Linked DNA regions of Homo sapiens: regions 1 and 2 are each linked to region 3. The links are contacts of gene promoters, found by promoter capture Hi-C in blood cells and fetal thymus (Javierre and others, 2016). All regions are on one chromosome and are shown on one strand. The core of a region is centred on a gene start or on the middle of the fragment in contact, and the rest is flanking DNA. Distances in the headings are between cores, read along the strand shown. Region 1 overlaps PKD1L3 (polycystin 1 like 3, transient receptor potential channel interacting). Region 2 overlaps LINC02136 (long intergenic non-protein coding RNA 2136). Region 3 holds the start of PHLPP2 (PH domain and leucine rich repeat protein phosphatase 2).

What was found. The method cuts DNA at HindIII sites, captures the fragments that hold promoters and counts their contacts. A CHiCAGO score of 5 or more calls a contact.
Region 1: a fragment that was not itself captured here is called in contact with the fragment with the promoter of PHLPP2 in region 3 in 5 of 17 cell types (total CD8 T cells, total CD4 T cells, activated CD4 T cells and 2 more); the score reaches 8.0 in total CD8 T cells.
Region 2: a fragment that was not itself captured here is called in contact with the fragment with the promoter of PHLPP2 in region 3 in 2 of 17 cell types (naive B cells and total B cells); the score reaches 6.1 in naive B cells.

Annotation. Positions count from the first base shown.
Region 1 is chr16:71,982,376-71,985,521 of GRCh38, reverse strand. PKD1L3 (polycystin 1 like 3, transient receptor potential channel interacting) reads left to right here. Exons shown (of 30, transcript NM_181536.2): 6 at 1,355-1,486. Among named protein-coding and RNA genes, the nearest start is that of PKD1L3, 16 kb to the left of the region's middle. The HindIII fragment of the contact is 222 bases long and covers 1,208-1,429 here.
Region 2 is chr16:71,414,038-71,417,001 of GRCh38, reverse strand. It overlaps LINC02136 (long intergenic non-protein coding RNA 2136), which reads left to right. Exons shown (of 3, transcript NR_146574.1): 2 at 2,007-2,137. Among named protein-coding and RNA genes, the nearest start is that of LINC02136, 11 kb to the left of the region's middle. The HindIII fragment of the contact is 4,748 bases long and covers 1-2,964 here.
Region 3 is chr16:71,723,407-71,726,224 of GRCh38, reverse strand. It overlaps PHLPP2 (PH domain and leucine rich repeat protein phosphatase 2), which reads left to right and starts at 1,524. Exons shown (of 19, transcript NM_015020.3): 1 at 1,524-1,896. RefSeq lists a silencer at 1,951-2,818 and an enhancer at 2,686-2,818. The HindIII fragment of the contact is 20,650 bases long and covers 1-2,818 here.

The DNA.
Region 1 (3,146 bases), core at 69-2,568, 260 kb before region 3:
GCTTGAGCCTGGGAGGTCCAGACTGCAGTGAGCCATGATTGTGCCACTGTATACTGTAGGCTGGGCAACAGAACAAAACTCTCTCTCAAAAAAAGGCAAAGTCCCTTTGACAGTATTGACTGAAGAAAATAATCCTGCTTCCCTCATGCTTTTTTTTCCCTAAACTCAAACGAGCCCTGTTTATATGCAGTTGAACATTTCCCTGCTAAAACAATCCTGTTCACTCTGGATCTGCTTGCAATGGTAATGGAAATTCAGTGTTCTATTTGGGGGAGAAACTGACCTACAGGAGTTTAAACAAAGATTTTTGTTTTTGTTTTTGTTTTTCTTGGAAATCCTGAAGTACAGAATATCTAAAAGGATCTATAATAAATTATTAGAAATATTAAGAGGATTTAGCAATGTCAGCATTTAATCAAGATTTCTTGAATATGTGGTTGAATTAGGCTGTGAGTGAGGTATTCTCCAGAAATGGACCATGTAGTTGGCATTAATGGTGATTGTCTCAGGGTTGGACTTTGAGTTCAAGTGCAGTAGCCACTTAAGCTTTGGGACCGCGGCCATTTGCTCAGTCTGTTTCTTAGGGCAGGGAGGTTTTCTGCTTCCCACCTCTTGCTATGAGTCATTTTAAGTCATTACCTCTTGAATATGGACTCTTTTTTTGAGACAGATTCTCGATCTGTCGCCCAGGCTGGAGTGCAGTGGCGCAATCTCGGCTCACTGCAACCTCTGCCTCCCGGGTTCAAGAGATTCTCCTGCCTCAGCCTCCCGAGTAGCTGGGACTACAGGTGTACACCACCAAGCCTGGTTAATTTTTGTATTTTTAGTAGAGACAGGGTTTTGCTATGTAGGCCAGGTTGCTCTTGAACTCCTGACCTCAAGTGATCTGCCTGCCTTAGCCTCCCAAGTGCTGGGATGACAGGCGTGAGCCATCACGCCCAGCCTTAAATACGAATACTTGAATGGAGGGAAACACACACACAGGGAAGCCTGAGAGGAAAACATACTTCTGAATAGAAAAGTTTGGTTTTGGCTTTTTAATTTCCAAGTTTCCCTCATCTTCATGGCCTTAACACTTAAAGTTACTGCTATAAATCTTATTTCCAGACTCATTTGCCCTTGGAGCAATCATTATATAATCTCGTTATTCATTTTCTCTATCGTATGGAAGAAGTAGAAATAAATTCTGTCCACTCGCAGAAAAGCTTCTGAAAGTAATCACTGTTTTAGAGAGCTGTGGTTCATAGGGTTTATAAAGTTACCCAAGGTCAACTTGGATGAAAATAATCTCCCTGACTACTACAGTACAGTAATTTTGTATGAGTAATTTTGACAACTTCTTTGTTCCCAATAGGTCATAGATGAGATAGCAGGGAACTTCAGCAGAGCAGTTCATGGTTTGCAAGCTCTTAACAAACTACAGGAAGCTTGTGAGTTCCTCCAGAAACTAACAGCCTTAACCCCAAGATTTTCTAAGCCAGCTCAGGTAAGTGGAGGGTGACTGGGAGGGAAGAAGGTAGGAGAGAGGGAAAAGCGGAAAACAGAAAAAGAGAATCTGAGGCTGGGTGCGGTGGCTCACGCCTGTAATCCCAGCACTTTAGAAGGCCGAGGCGGGCGGATCACATGAGGCCAGGAGTTCAAGACCTGACTGGGCAACATGGCAAAACCCGTCTCTACTGAAAAAACAAAAATTAGCTGGGCTCGGTGGCGGGCACCTGTAATCTCAGCTACTTGGAAGGCTGAGGCACAATAATCACTTGAACCCAGGAGGCAGAGGCAATGAGCCAAGATCCCGCCACTCCACTCCAGCCTGGGTGGCTGAGAGACTGTGTCTCCAAAAAAAAAAAAAAAAAAAAAAGAAAGAGAATCTGGAGATTGTGCCTTATGCCAAGCTTAGCATTATAAAGACTGTATTTAAATTTTAGCAAGCATATTTTTTTACCTTTAAATCTGGAAAGTTATGAATTAAATTGATCAGTAGTGACATTGTTGGATATACTGTGTTTATGTTCATTTGTTGATTAATCAGCTGGTACTGCCTTGCTGATGCATTTGTTAGAAGTCTGTCGGCATTCAGTGGAACACATTGGCTCCCACCTGTAGTCCCAGCACTTTGGGAGGCTGAATCAGGCGGATAGCTTGAGCCCAGGAGTTCGAGACCAGCCTGGGCAACATGGTGAAACCCTGTCTCTATCAAAAATACAAAACTTAACTGGGTGTGGTGGTGCTCACCTGTAGTTGCAGCTACTTGGGAGGCTGAGATGGGAGGATGGTTTGAGCCCGGAAGGTGGAGGTTGCAGTGAGCCAAGACTCTGCCACTGCACTCCAGCCTGGGTGACAGAGCCACACTCTGTCTGAAATTAAAAAGACAAAAAACTCAGCATTGGTCTTTTCTTCATTCCTTTTTTTAGTCTGATGGTATTAATTGGATATTTGGTCTACTCACCACTCAAAAAGAATTGTCAGTTTGTCAGAATAACATGAAATATGAATCCTCCCTTATAGGTTATATGAAATAATATATTCTCCTTCCCTGTCAAATTGTAACTTTTTTTTTATAAAATGCATTTGAAATGTATAACGAATATTAAGCTGCTAATAAGAAGTATGCAAATTGAAAATAATCATGTGCTAGGTGTGTGGCTCATGTCTGTAATCTAAACACTTTGGGAGGCCAAGACAGGAGGATCTCTTGGGGCCAGGTGTTTGAGACCAGCCTGGGCAATACAGTGAGCCCCTGCCTCTACAAAAAATTTTTAAAAATTAGGTGTGGTGGTACCCACCTGTGTCCTAGCTACTGGGGAGGCTGAGGAAGGAGGATTGCTTGAGTCCAGAAGTTCGAGGCTGCAGTGAGGCATGATTGTACCACTGCACTCCAGACGGGGCAACAGAGCAAGACCCCATCTCTTAAAAGTAAAATTTTAAAAAGCAATCATAGGCTGGGCGTGGTGGCTCACACCTGTAATCCCAGCACTTTGGGAGGCCAGGGTAGGAAGATCACCTGAGGTCAGGAGTTGGAGACCAGCCTGACCAACATGGAGAAACTCCATCTCTGCTAAAAATACAAAATTAGTTGAGCATGGTGGCTCATGCCTGTAGTCCTAGCTACTCAGGAGGCTGAGGCAGGAGAATTGCTTGAACCCGGG
Region 2 (2,964 bases), core at 455-2,954, 310 kb after region 3:
CTATTGTTCACAGCATATATAAGAATAAACTCAAATGGATCATGAATTTAAGTGTAAAAAATGAAAACATGTAAGTACTAGGGGGAAAAAGTCCGTGGGTGAATTCCTCTTAACCTCAGTGTAAGGAAAGGATTTGAAAGCATCACTCAGAATCCAGAAGCAATGAAATAAAATTCTGGCAAATTGGACATGGCAAACCAAACCAAACCAAACCAGACAAAACAAAAAACCCAAACCACAGAAACCAAAGTAACTGAAAAATTGAGAGAAAATATTTGTAACACATACCACAGACAAAGGGCTAATCTCCCTTATATATACAGAACTCTTAAAAATTGAGGGACAGAGGATGAAATACTCCACAGAAAAAAGAGAAAAGACTTGGACAATTCACACACACATTAAAATGGTCCTCAAACATATGCCAGTTACTGGGACAGTGTTGTGGGGACAAAAATAAGTAGACACAGTTCCTTCCCCCAAGGAGTTTCCAGTTCACTGGGAAAGTCACAGAAACTAACTTGAATGGGGACAGAGTATGGTTAAATTTCAAGGGGTAGGCTGGGTGCGGTGGCTCATGCCTATAATCCAAGCACTTTGGAAGCTGAACCAGGAGGATCACTTGAGCCCAGGAGTTTGAGACCAGCCTGGGCAACATGATAAGACCGCATCTCTACAAAAAATTAAAAAACTAGCCAGGTGTGGTAGTGCGTGTCTCTAGTTCCAGCTACTTGTGGGGGGGTGAGGTGGGAGGATCACTTGACCCAGGGAGGTTGAGGCTGTAGTGAGCCATGATCGTGCCACTGCACTCCAGCCTGGATGACAGAGGGAGACCCTGTCTCAAAAAATAAATAAAAACGGGTGGGGTTGGATTTCACCTGAGCCTGCTGGAGGGCAGGGAGGAGCAGTTGGTGGGGTGGAATGTCAGGGAGTGAACAATCTAAGAGGCAGGTGAAAGTGGTTCTGAGCAGAGAGGACCATTGGGGGATGAGGCAGCTGTTGGAGAGGGATGGGTCAAGGGATGGAGGGTAGCACTGTGAGCTGAAATAGGTGAATTGGGAGGGATGCTGGCTAGAGAAGAGGTAAGTCCAGCACTTACTGTGCTTGGGGCTGTGAGAGGCACCTGAGGACAGATGCCTGTCCTCCAGGATCCCACAGTCCTGGGTGGAAACCAGCAGGGCCTTGATGAACTAGACTTCCGGAGAGAATGAACTCAGTACTGTAGTGGAGGGACCAAGGGCAAGCTGCCCAAGGCTCAGACTAGAGTTGGGGCTGGTTGGGTTTCAGGTGAAGACAGATGTCCATGTGGATCTAGCCCACTGGTCTCTGGACATGTGGTTATGTTGGTCAAAGGAGAAGACCAAGGCTCAGAACAAAGACTTGAGATTTGCCCCCTCAACTGTCAGAGAAGGAGTTATGGAGGGAGATCGTGGCCTGAGGGTCATGGAGTGGCCAGGGGAGAGTCTTGGTCAGTCACACATTGGAGGCCATGAGAAAGAGTAGTTAGGAGAGGGGTGCTTGAGCCAGTAATCAGATTCAAGTCCCTGTTATGCTCATGTGCCAGCTCTGCCCTTGAGTTTTCTCATCTTTCAATTGGGGAATGGGGCCGGGTGCGGTGGCTCACACCTATAATCCCAGCATTTTGGGAGGCCAAGGCGGGTGGATCATGAGGTCAGGAGTTTGAGACCAGCCTGGCCAATGTGGTGAAACCCCATCTCTACTAAAAATACAAAAATTAGCCAGGCATGGTGGCGGGCGCCTGTAATCCTTGGGAGGCTGAGGCAGGAGAATCGCTTGAAACCAGAAGGTGGGGAGGTTGCAGTGAGCCAAGATCATGCCACTGCACTCCAGCCTGGGTAACAAGAGCAAAACTCTGTCTCAAAAAATAAATAAATAAATAAAAATTTAGAGAATGAATCAAGGCATGACTGTAGGACCAAACGAGTTCACATATGCAAAGTGTTTTAATATGGTCAAAGCATTCAATAAATGCTGCTGTTAATTAGGAGGCAAGAAGAGATTGAAGGGAAATCTCAAGGGGCTCCAGAGACTACTACGATGGTGCAAAGTCACAGAAGCCCTGGGAAAAGCAGGTAGAATGGAGTTGCCATGACATTGAGCCTCACCTAGATGCCAGGTAGGTAACACGCATTATCACAGGTGAGTCTCACTGTAATCTCACAAGGGAATTTCTATGGTCATCCCCACCCCACAGTGTAACAAGCTCAAGGTCCCAAGAGTATGACCTACGTTTCCTGTTCTGGACCTTAAGTTTTATTTATTTATTAATTATTTTACTTTTTTTGAGATGAGGTCTTGCTCTGTCACACAGCCCAAAGTGCAGTGGCACGATCCTGACTTACTGCAACCTCCGCCTTCCAGGCTCAAGCAATCTTTCTACCTCAGCCCCCCAAGTATCTGTGAGTACAGGCATGTGCCACCACACTCGGATATATATATATATATATATATATATATATTTGTGTGTGTGGAGATAGGGTTTCACTAGGTTGCCCAGGCTGGTCTCAAACCCCTGGTCTCAAGTGATCCGCCTGCCTCGGCCTCCCAAACTGTTGGGATTCCAGGCGTGAGCCACCGTGCCCAGCCTGGACCTTAAGAATGAAATCATCCTTGGGTTAAAGGCTGGTCTCCCTTAGAGATGGTTGTTTGCAGGTCACCTTCCAGGGGCTAATACTCTGGCAAATGCTGGTGACCTTGAGATGAATGAGCCTTGATCCGTGTACTCAGTGAGCTCTCAGGATGAGGGTTCCTGTAGCCTCTCTCTTCATTGCATCATCTCCAAAACCTGACAGGACTGATGCTGGAAGGTCTTTCCAAGGCCCAGACTCCTCTCCTGGCTCAAACACTTTCCATGGCTCTCTGTGGCCTCCAGCCCAGGGTCTGAATTGGTTCTACCTGGCCAAGTGCTCTGCCTGCTTTTAGGGTCTGGTCTGTGCCGCGAGC
Region 3 (2,818 bases), core at 275-2,774:
TGAGCTATGATTGTGTCCATACCGTACTCCAGCCTGAGCAACAAAGCGAGACCCTGTCTCAAAAATAAAAAAAATATAAAAGGCTTTTGAAAAACACTTTTTTTTTTCCTTGAGACAAGAGTCTCCCTCTGTCACCCAGACTGCAGTGCAGTGGCGCGATATCTCGGCTCACTGCAACCTCCACCTCCCAAGTTCAAGTGATTCTCCTGCCTCAGCCTCCTGAGTAGCTGGGCCTACAGGCTCGTGCCCCCACACTGCCTAATTTTTGTATTTTTAGTAGAGATGGGGTTTTGCCATGTTGGCCAGGCTGGGTTCAAACTCCTGACCTCAGGTGATCTGCCCGTCTTGGCCTCCCAAAGTGCTGAATTACAGGCATGAGCCACTGCACCCAGCCAGAAACACTTGTTCTAAACCACATTTTTTTCTTATCACTGCTTGCCTGCCCTTGTTAAAATTTGCTTCTGTCTCCATATTGGTGCCTATTGCTTATATACCAGTTTTCTTGTTGGGAGAAATTACCCAGTAAGCACTGAAATGGGAATCCAACTACTTTGAGTACCTTTCCTGAAAATAATTTCAAGGTGGAAGGAAAATCCAGGAGGTGGATGACCTAAGAGTTTTCTCCCACCTTAAACCAGACTCACAGTGACAAATCGTTTTTAATGCATTAAAATGAGGCCAAGAAATGAAGATTACTGGAGATTGGAATTTTGGTATATACAAAGCTAACTTGTGAAGGGAGAAAGTAGGTCAGAAAGGGGTCGGAACCTGCAAGAGCCAAATTTGGTCCTGGCATTTAAAATATCTCCAAATGGATACATATCTCAGATGGGGGACACAGACTGCTCTGTTAAATCTAAAAGTCTTGTACTAAGCCTGCAATTATTCTAGACATACAGTTAGTCTGAATGAGGCAAACTGAAGCAATGGATAATAGGGACAAAGGGTCCTGCTTTGTCACCCAGGCTGGAGTGCAGTGGCACGATCTCGTCTCACTGCAACCTCCGCCTCCCGGGTTCAAGCGATTCTCCTGCCTCCACCTCCCAAGTGGCTGGGATTACAGGCGTGCGCCACCCTGCCCAGCTCATTTTTTTGTATTTTTGGTATAGACAGGGTTTCGCTATGTTGGTCAGGCTGGTCTCGGACTCCTGGCCTCAAGTAATCTGCCTGCCTTGGCTTCCCAAAGTACTGGAATTACAGTTCTATGAAAGTGAAGAAATTACTGTTTTTTGCTGTCTAATTCCTTACAAGTTGCTTGAAGATTCAACACCCTATGTATGAGGGGAAGCCCTAAAAATCTGGAAGTCTAGAAGCCTTCCTAGGAAAATTTAGGAGGAATCGACAGAGTACTTTTCGAGAAACCGATTGGATCTTCAATTTAGAATTTTGGAATTATAATGGCTACTATGGATCCCCACTATACGTTAGGCACTTTGTATGCACTAAATCTTCATCATAACTACTTGGCAGATTTTAATCTCTTTCTCACAGCTTAAGAACGAAAGGCTTAGATCAAGTAACTTGCACAGGGGTATAGATCTAAAGAAGGGCAGAGGGGAGATCTGGAAACAGGCTGGCTGACTCCAAATTTGGCCCATTGGCAACAAAACTACTATCACTGCGAGAACGAAAAGAAAAACAAAACAAAGAAAAGAAAAGAAGTTAACTTTTAAAAGTTTTTTTCTGAATCAGCCTTGCAAATAAATCATAAACCGGGTCACAGGCCATATTACTGCTTGAAGCAGAGCACCGAATTCTGATAATTTTGCTCCAGGAGGAGGCAAGGGAATTAAAACATGGCTGGGAGGTGAGCGGACGTTTTGTACGAGGTTGGGTTGAATTTGCTTAAGAAGGTCGCACGCATCTCTGATAAGGAAGAGAAAAGGCCTTGCCAAGGTGAGTATTCTCAACAGTTCGTTCAACGGCTTGGCAGGTGAGGGAAGTTACAAGAGCCACCCTGGCGGAGGGCAGCGTCTTGTCACAATTGACAGGTGCCGGCGCCACCTGCTTCTTTCTCCCGCGGGTTTCTTAGAGGGCGGGGAAAGCAGCAAATACCCCTCCTTGCGCTCTAGTCCTCCAAGCCTAGGGCGGCGGGCAGTGGAGGCCCAGCGCTCTGCGGTGGTGCCAGGTTCCGCCACGCGGGCCGCGGCCGGAATGCGGCTCGGTGGCGCCCGGGCCACTCGGCGCCGGCAGCTGCTTAGGTCCAGCGGGGCTGCGGGAGGGGCGGAGCTGGCGAGCCGCCGGAGGGGCGGAGCCGGCGGGCCGCGGGGGGCGGGGCCACCGGTTGCTCGCGCGCGCCGCCGAGGCTCCGCACGCCGTCGCGCGGGCCGGGCGTCTCTGTGAATCCTGGGTCGCCGATGGGGGAGGTGGAGCCGGGGCCCGCGGGCCCGCTGGAGCCCCCGGAGCCGCCCGAAGCGCCCGCGAGCCGCCGGCCGGGAGGGATCCGGGTCCTGAAGGTGAGGAGGCGGATGGACCAGCGAGCGAGCGAGCGGGCGAGCGGGCAAGCGGACTAGGGAGGGAACGAGGGAGGCTAGAGGCCGCTGCCGCCCCCGCCCCGCGCAGTGGCTGAGGCAGTCGGCGGCCCCCGCCCGGCGTCAGTCAGTCGGCCGCCCCACACCCGGCTGGGGACGCCGAGGCCTCCGCGCCGCGCCCGCGTCCAGGCCTCGGCGCCTCGGTACCCCGCTGCTGCCCATCCCTGGCCGCGCGCCGCCCGCCTCGCAGGCCCACGCCTTTGGGCTGCGGGTAGCCGCCGCCCACCCGGACCCTTCGCCGCCCCTGCTTGCCTCGCCGCGCTCGGGGCCCGGAGGCCGGCTCCGGA